Linked DNA regions of Homo sapiens: region 1 is linked to region 2. The links are contacts of gene promoters, found by promoter capture Hi-C in blood cells and fetal thymus (Javierre and others, 2016). All regions are on one chromosome and are shown on one strand. The core of a region is centred on a gene start or on the middle of the fragment in contact, and the rest is flanking DNA. Distances in the headings are between cores, read along the strand shown.

Region 1 (2,885 bases), core at 99-2,598, 1.9 Mb before region 2:
GCTAGTTACAGAGGCTTTCTAACTGTAAGTAGCAAATAGTGCATACATTCTACAGGCCCAAGCTCACAATTATGGGAAGACAAAAGTAGCTAGGTCAGAAAAAAGAGAAGTGACTCCCATAGACTTCCACTGGTCTGTAATTTTATGTCCTTTGACTCAACAGGGAAATGGATCAAAGACACAGAGCTAACACCACAGGATCAACTGAAAGAGAAAGAAATAGGTAGAGAATGGAACCTGACTATGCTCGTTAGTTGTGATACAGGCAGTTAAAGCCACAGAAGAATCTAACAAGGTGATGCTTGTAAGTTGAAGGAAGAAACTATCCAGGTCCTGAGATGGTATACTGTGCTGATTGAGAGCTTGAGGCCCAGAATCAGTTCCCTGCACTTGATTCCTGCGGCTGCATTTACTAAGGCTCTTATTGCCAAGCTTCAGCTTCTTTATCTATAACTGTGCTAATATGGTAGCTACTAGCCACAAGTGGCAATTGAGCACATGAAATATAGTCAGACTGAAATGTGTCTTAAGTATAAAATAAACATCAGAAGTAAAAGACTTAGTAAAAAAAAGAGGGCAAAATATGTTATTAACAATTTTATATTGATTACATGTTGAAATGAAAATATTTTGGAAAGCTGAAGTTATGAAATACATTATTAAAAATAATTTCACCTGTTTCTTTTAAAATTTGTAAGTGTCTCTTAGAAAATTTAAAATTATACATGTAGCTCACACTATGTATCTACTAGACAGATTTCCTTCTCTAACTTTGGGAATAGCAACAGTACCTACACCTCACAAGATTGCTCAACAGAGCATATAAAACCTTTAGTATATTGTTAGGCATGTAGTAAAGGTCCAAAGAATGCTAATTACCATTCTTTAGCACTTGGAGTTAGAAGGGAAGGGCTAAACTAGGTGCTTTATTCCAGGGTGAGGCAAGGGCTTATGGCTGCACACTGCCGCATCAAGCAGGAATCAGTCACTGGGGGAGCTGCGGCAGTCCCACAGAAATGCAAGAAGGAGCAGGAGGCAAAAAATTGCAAGCTATATGCCTTAGTTAAGCCAAAAGGGAGGTCCAAAATGTCTTTTTAAATGGTAGTCAAATGCCATCATGAAATTTTACTTGGTCCTATGCTAAAGTCAGTTGTTTAAATTGTCTCCTTAGATAGCCCAAATATATAAAATAATTCAGCACTTGCATGCCAAAATTCTTCTAACTAGGAAAAAAAAAAAGTAAAATTTCAGACAAGATTTGCGAGGTAATAATATTTTGTTATTTTTATGTGTTATACAATAAATACTATTTGATGAGAATTTTGAAGAAAGAGGTGGAAGGAAGAAGAAGAAAATAATTCTGGGGTTCATCCTTCACTGGAGGACCAACAGGAACTGAGGTCTTATGTAAATTATCTGAATTTCATTGAGGGGCATTAGAAGGATTTCAAGATTGTTTTAAAATGATTCCAATATCTCTAACACAGTACTTGAAAGCAACTTCTAAAGCTAAACTTTTGAAACATGGTCATGTGGGGGAAGACAAAAGAAAATAAAAACTATGTATTCACTTTAAAAATATTAACTAGCTCTTCAAACATTCTAATTTTTACTTCACCTCACTAACTTCACTACCTGTAGCATGCCTTCTTTACAGGTTGCATGATGTTGAGGGAATAATTTGATGCTTATAAACATGGGTGTCAATTAGAAACCTGTTTCAAAGCATTAGTGGAGAATATTAGGAGAAATTCCTATTCAAGAGTATTTTAATCAATGGTTTATGGCCACCTTCCCTGCCTCATAAGACACTGGGCTCTGGAACCAGACTGCCTGGCCTTGAGTAATATTTTAATGGAAGGGTCATGGCCTTAGAACCAAGAACTCCAGGCTGTGGACAGCCTAAGTCTATGACCCTGGGCAAGCTCTGTAAGCCTTTCTATGTCTCAATCTTCTCATCTATTACATGGATATCCAAAGAACACCTATCTCCCAGAGTTACTGCTGAGTTCATTCATTGCTTAAAACAGAAGCTGAAATATTAGCTCCTATCTAAAAATGGTTTAAGTTTCTTTATAGTGTACAAAAGAATAAAGGCGTATTTGAGGCCAATCAATATTATATTGTTTTGACGCATGATCCTTTAACTTACAATTTCTTCATTTCCCCAACTGAAATGATATTTGCCTAGTGTTTTCTTATTAGCATGTTGAAACATACTAAGAAATTGTTATAAAGACAGCCTGAGCTTTCTAGAAACCCTAGAAAGCTTTGACAAAGAGGTATAGAACGAAATACCCCCAAATAGTTTAGGGTTGCCAATGAGAGGGAGAAAAACTCACTGAAAATCCCTGCAACATTTTTCTGATTTAAATGTCAGAAAGCAATCTAAAGTTGCATATTATTTGGGAAATGTAAAATCCAAATAATGTACACTTTGTTGGTAGTTCCATGAACTGTTAAAAAGTCAATTACCCAAACATGAAATGAAAATGTATTTACATCCAAATGATTCTCAATCATCAAATATAAAGAAATTATTACTTTGACATGGGACTCTTTAGCAAAGCCCACCCTTGCATATATTTGGCTATTTACTTCTAGTTTTCTAATATATAATAGCTCATATTTCCCATTTTTTATTTTTCATTTTCTTCTTTCTAATTGATATACTGATAGCGCAAAATATGTTCATGAAAACAAAATTTATTTTCTTTCGAATTAAAACTCATTTGGAATTTAGAAAAGGTAAGTAGGGGACAGCTGTGGTTAGGAGGAACTATCTGCACACTCTGTCACAGCACAGCCCTCTCAGTCTTTACTTACATCCACAAAAGGGGAACTGCAAGCTATATTATCCAAATTAATGGAGTTTTTATAAGGTG
Region 2 (2,850 bases), core at 161-2,660:
CTGTGGCACCAGGAGCCTGTGCCTCGCAGACCGCTGACCCCAGGAAGTAATGGACAATGAGGCGCAGCTGCTGCTGCCTCTCTGGGTTTGTGCTGAGGCCACCTTCTCGGGGCCGTTACAAGCCAGTGCCTGAGCATGCATGCTTACTAAGGCAGACTCATTTCTGGGAGACATAGACCTCCTCCCCAACGGATGACTGGCTAGAGAAGCTCCTTATTACCTTGCTGAAGTTCTCTTAGACTGCACAGCTGTCTGGGATGCTTCCACTCAACCTGGTTTCCTTCTTTTCCTCCCTCGCGGGTGGACTTGCATCGAGGTCTGATGGCTCTCACAGCCTTACCTAGTTCTCTCCTCATTCTCTCTCACAACAGCATTTCCCCTAATAAAATCCATGCATATTTAATTCTATCTTGGAGTCTGCTTCTTGGAGGAGCAGACTAACACAATTATGTAAGAACTGGCTCCAGGGATCAGCTTATAATCACTGACTTCCTCTGAGTTTGTCCACATTTTTTAGGCGATGGGGAAGCTTGGCTTTAACAGTGCCTGACCTACTTTGATGCAATGAATTTTTGCTTTTTTACTTCTTACACAAAAGATAAACATGGAATGTTTATCATTTCAACATGGAATGACAGTTTCTAAAGTATAACTTTAGAAAGATATACTTTATCCTCCTTGAATCCTAAGCATGGTGCACAAAAGCTATTTTACAACACTGTCATTAGTGATATTGGGTGTATGGCCCTGTAAAGCCTCCAGTCAAAGGTTTTGCTAGGAATCTTTGCCAACCGAAGAAGCACTTCCAGAACAAATGCCGAAGCACAGAGCAGCCTTTCTATGCACTCTGAAAACCTCCTCTTAGCTGGCCTTCCTGTCTTTCTGGGACCAGATTTTGGGGTCAAAGCCTTAACATTTGATAAACTGTAATCTCAAACTAAAACAGATTTCTTTGAGAAAATGAGAGCAAACACGGCCTGAAATGGTAAAACAAGGCACCTCTCAATATATCCAATGTGAAAACCATACATGTTGGCTTCCTTAGTCCAAAAGTTAGAATCAAAATGTTGATTTTTGATTAGCAGAGACACAAACAGCATATTCAGGAAGCCATTGTTTTCAAGAGCCAGGAAGAAAACTCTTCACTTAGGATACCGTAAGAATCCTTTTTTCTTGGGCTACTTTATAAAACATACATACCACAGAGTTTCAGGCTCTTTAAAAACCCATCTTTACACTGATCTAACTGCTCAGATTAATTTTGAAACAGGCAACGTGCAGAAAAAAACAACATCTAAAAATTAAACCTCCCCTCTTTCCGTTCTAAAGTTTCATTTCAAAAGTATTAGGAAATCTTACTTTAAGCAGCGAGCTGATGGCGTTCTCCAGAACTCGGTTTGAGCAACAAACTTGAGACAACCTTTGTCTGGAAGCAAGTCAAGCGCTTAATAATGCATGCTGGGATTTGTAGTTTCCCTGCTTTCAGAGTTTAGTGGCTCCATCCATACACTTTATAAATGTATGTGCTGCCATCTAGTGGAATTCAGGTAGAACTATGAATTCCAAGTGGAAGGTGAAAAGTGGAAAAGCACCTTAGAGCTTACTTAGGATGCGGAAATCATTTCCTTCACTTCAGTCTCTCCACTTCTCTGTTTTGTTTATGCCTACTATATGCGGTGCCAGGGTAGACGAGATTGGCTGAGCTGGAAACTGCGTGTGGAAGATAGCAGAGCAACAAAATAGAGGGAACCCAGGTCACTGAAAATTCTGGAGCCTTCCTGTCACTTGGCCTGGATTGTTTTAAGGGAGAGAAATAAAAAAAAAAATCCTTTTTGTTTGAGATACAGTTGTGATTTTTATTTTTTCATGCTCAGAATATTCTAACACTAATGCACATTTAGTGGCAGAATGCCAGGAGCCTTTTACTACACTGGGAATGGGGTTGGGGAGAACGTGAAACTTGGATGACAGGGTGGAGGCTTAAAAGGGAACATGTTAACAGCGAAAAACCCCAGTTTGGCTGAAGAGAACAGAGATATAAGGTCAAAAAGAAAGGACTAGATCTCATGAGCCCTCTAGGTTAGGATAGCAACATGTGCTTTATCTGTAGTGCCAGTGAGCAGAGTGATTGTGTAGGCTACTTGTACATGTACTGTATAAATTGGTTTCCTCAGCACCCATCCAACTCACTTTCCCCTTTTTTCACTTGTCAAAGCTGGAAAACAAAAGTCTCTACTTCATAGCCTTGTTTGCTGCTAGGGGTGGCCAAGCAGCATAGATGTTGCCAATGAAATGCAGGTGGGAATTTCTGAGGAGGGCCTCCTTCTTAAATAGAAAAGTAAGCCCTTCTGAAAGGCTTTTAGCTTTTGCTCCTCCCTTTCTTTTTGCCTGGAATGAAGATAGGATGCCGTGGGACAGAGCAGCCATTTAGTGAGTTCATCTGAGGCCAGAGGCACACATTAACGACAGGGACCAGCAAGAGAAGGAGCCTGCGGCCCTGATGACAGCCTCAAGGCAACAACTCCTCTGGACTTCTTATGTGAGGACAATAAACTTTAGTGTTTTTCACGTTTTTTGTTACATGGAGCTAAGTGATTTCTAACAGTCACAGGGGATAAGAACAAAGACTGTGGCGTCAGTAAGACTAGAGCAAGTCCCATATCTCTCTCTCACTAGCTAAGTGAGTAAATCACTTAAATCTCTGAACCTCTTATGTTTCTCATCTGTAAAATGAAGGTAAAATAGCACCTACCTCAGGGATGTGGTGAGGAGGAACGACTAAGCCTGTGAATCCATCAGCACAATGTTTGCCACACAGGTGCTTAATACATGTTAGTGATTCTTATGATG

What was found. The method cuts DNA at HindIII sites, captures the fragments that hold promoters and counts their contacts. A CHiCAGO score of 5 or more calls a contact.
Region 1: a fragment that was not itself captured here is called in contact with the fragment with the promoter of BDH2 in region 2 in 1 of 17 cell types (activated CD4 T cells); the score reaches 5.6 in activated CD4 T cells.

Annotation. Positions count from the first base shown.
Region 1 is chr4:101,183,938-101,186,822 of GRCh38, forward strand. All of the region lies in intron 2 of PPP3CA (protein phosphatase 3 catalytic subunit alpha), which reads right to left. Among named protein-coding and RNA genes, the nearest start is that of MIR8066, 55 kb to the right of the region's middle. The HindIII fragment of the contact is 1,837 bases long and covers 431-2,267 here.
Region 2 is chr4:103,098,424-103,101,273 of GRCh38, forward strand. It overlaps BDH2 (3-hydroxybutyrate dehydrogenase 2), which reads right to left and starts at 1,411. Exons shown (of 10, transcript NM_020139.4): 1 at 1,360-1,411. The HindIII fragment of the contact is 3,413 bases long and covers 528-2,850 here.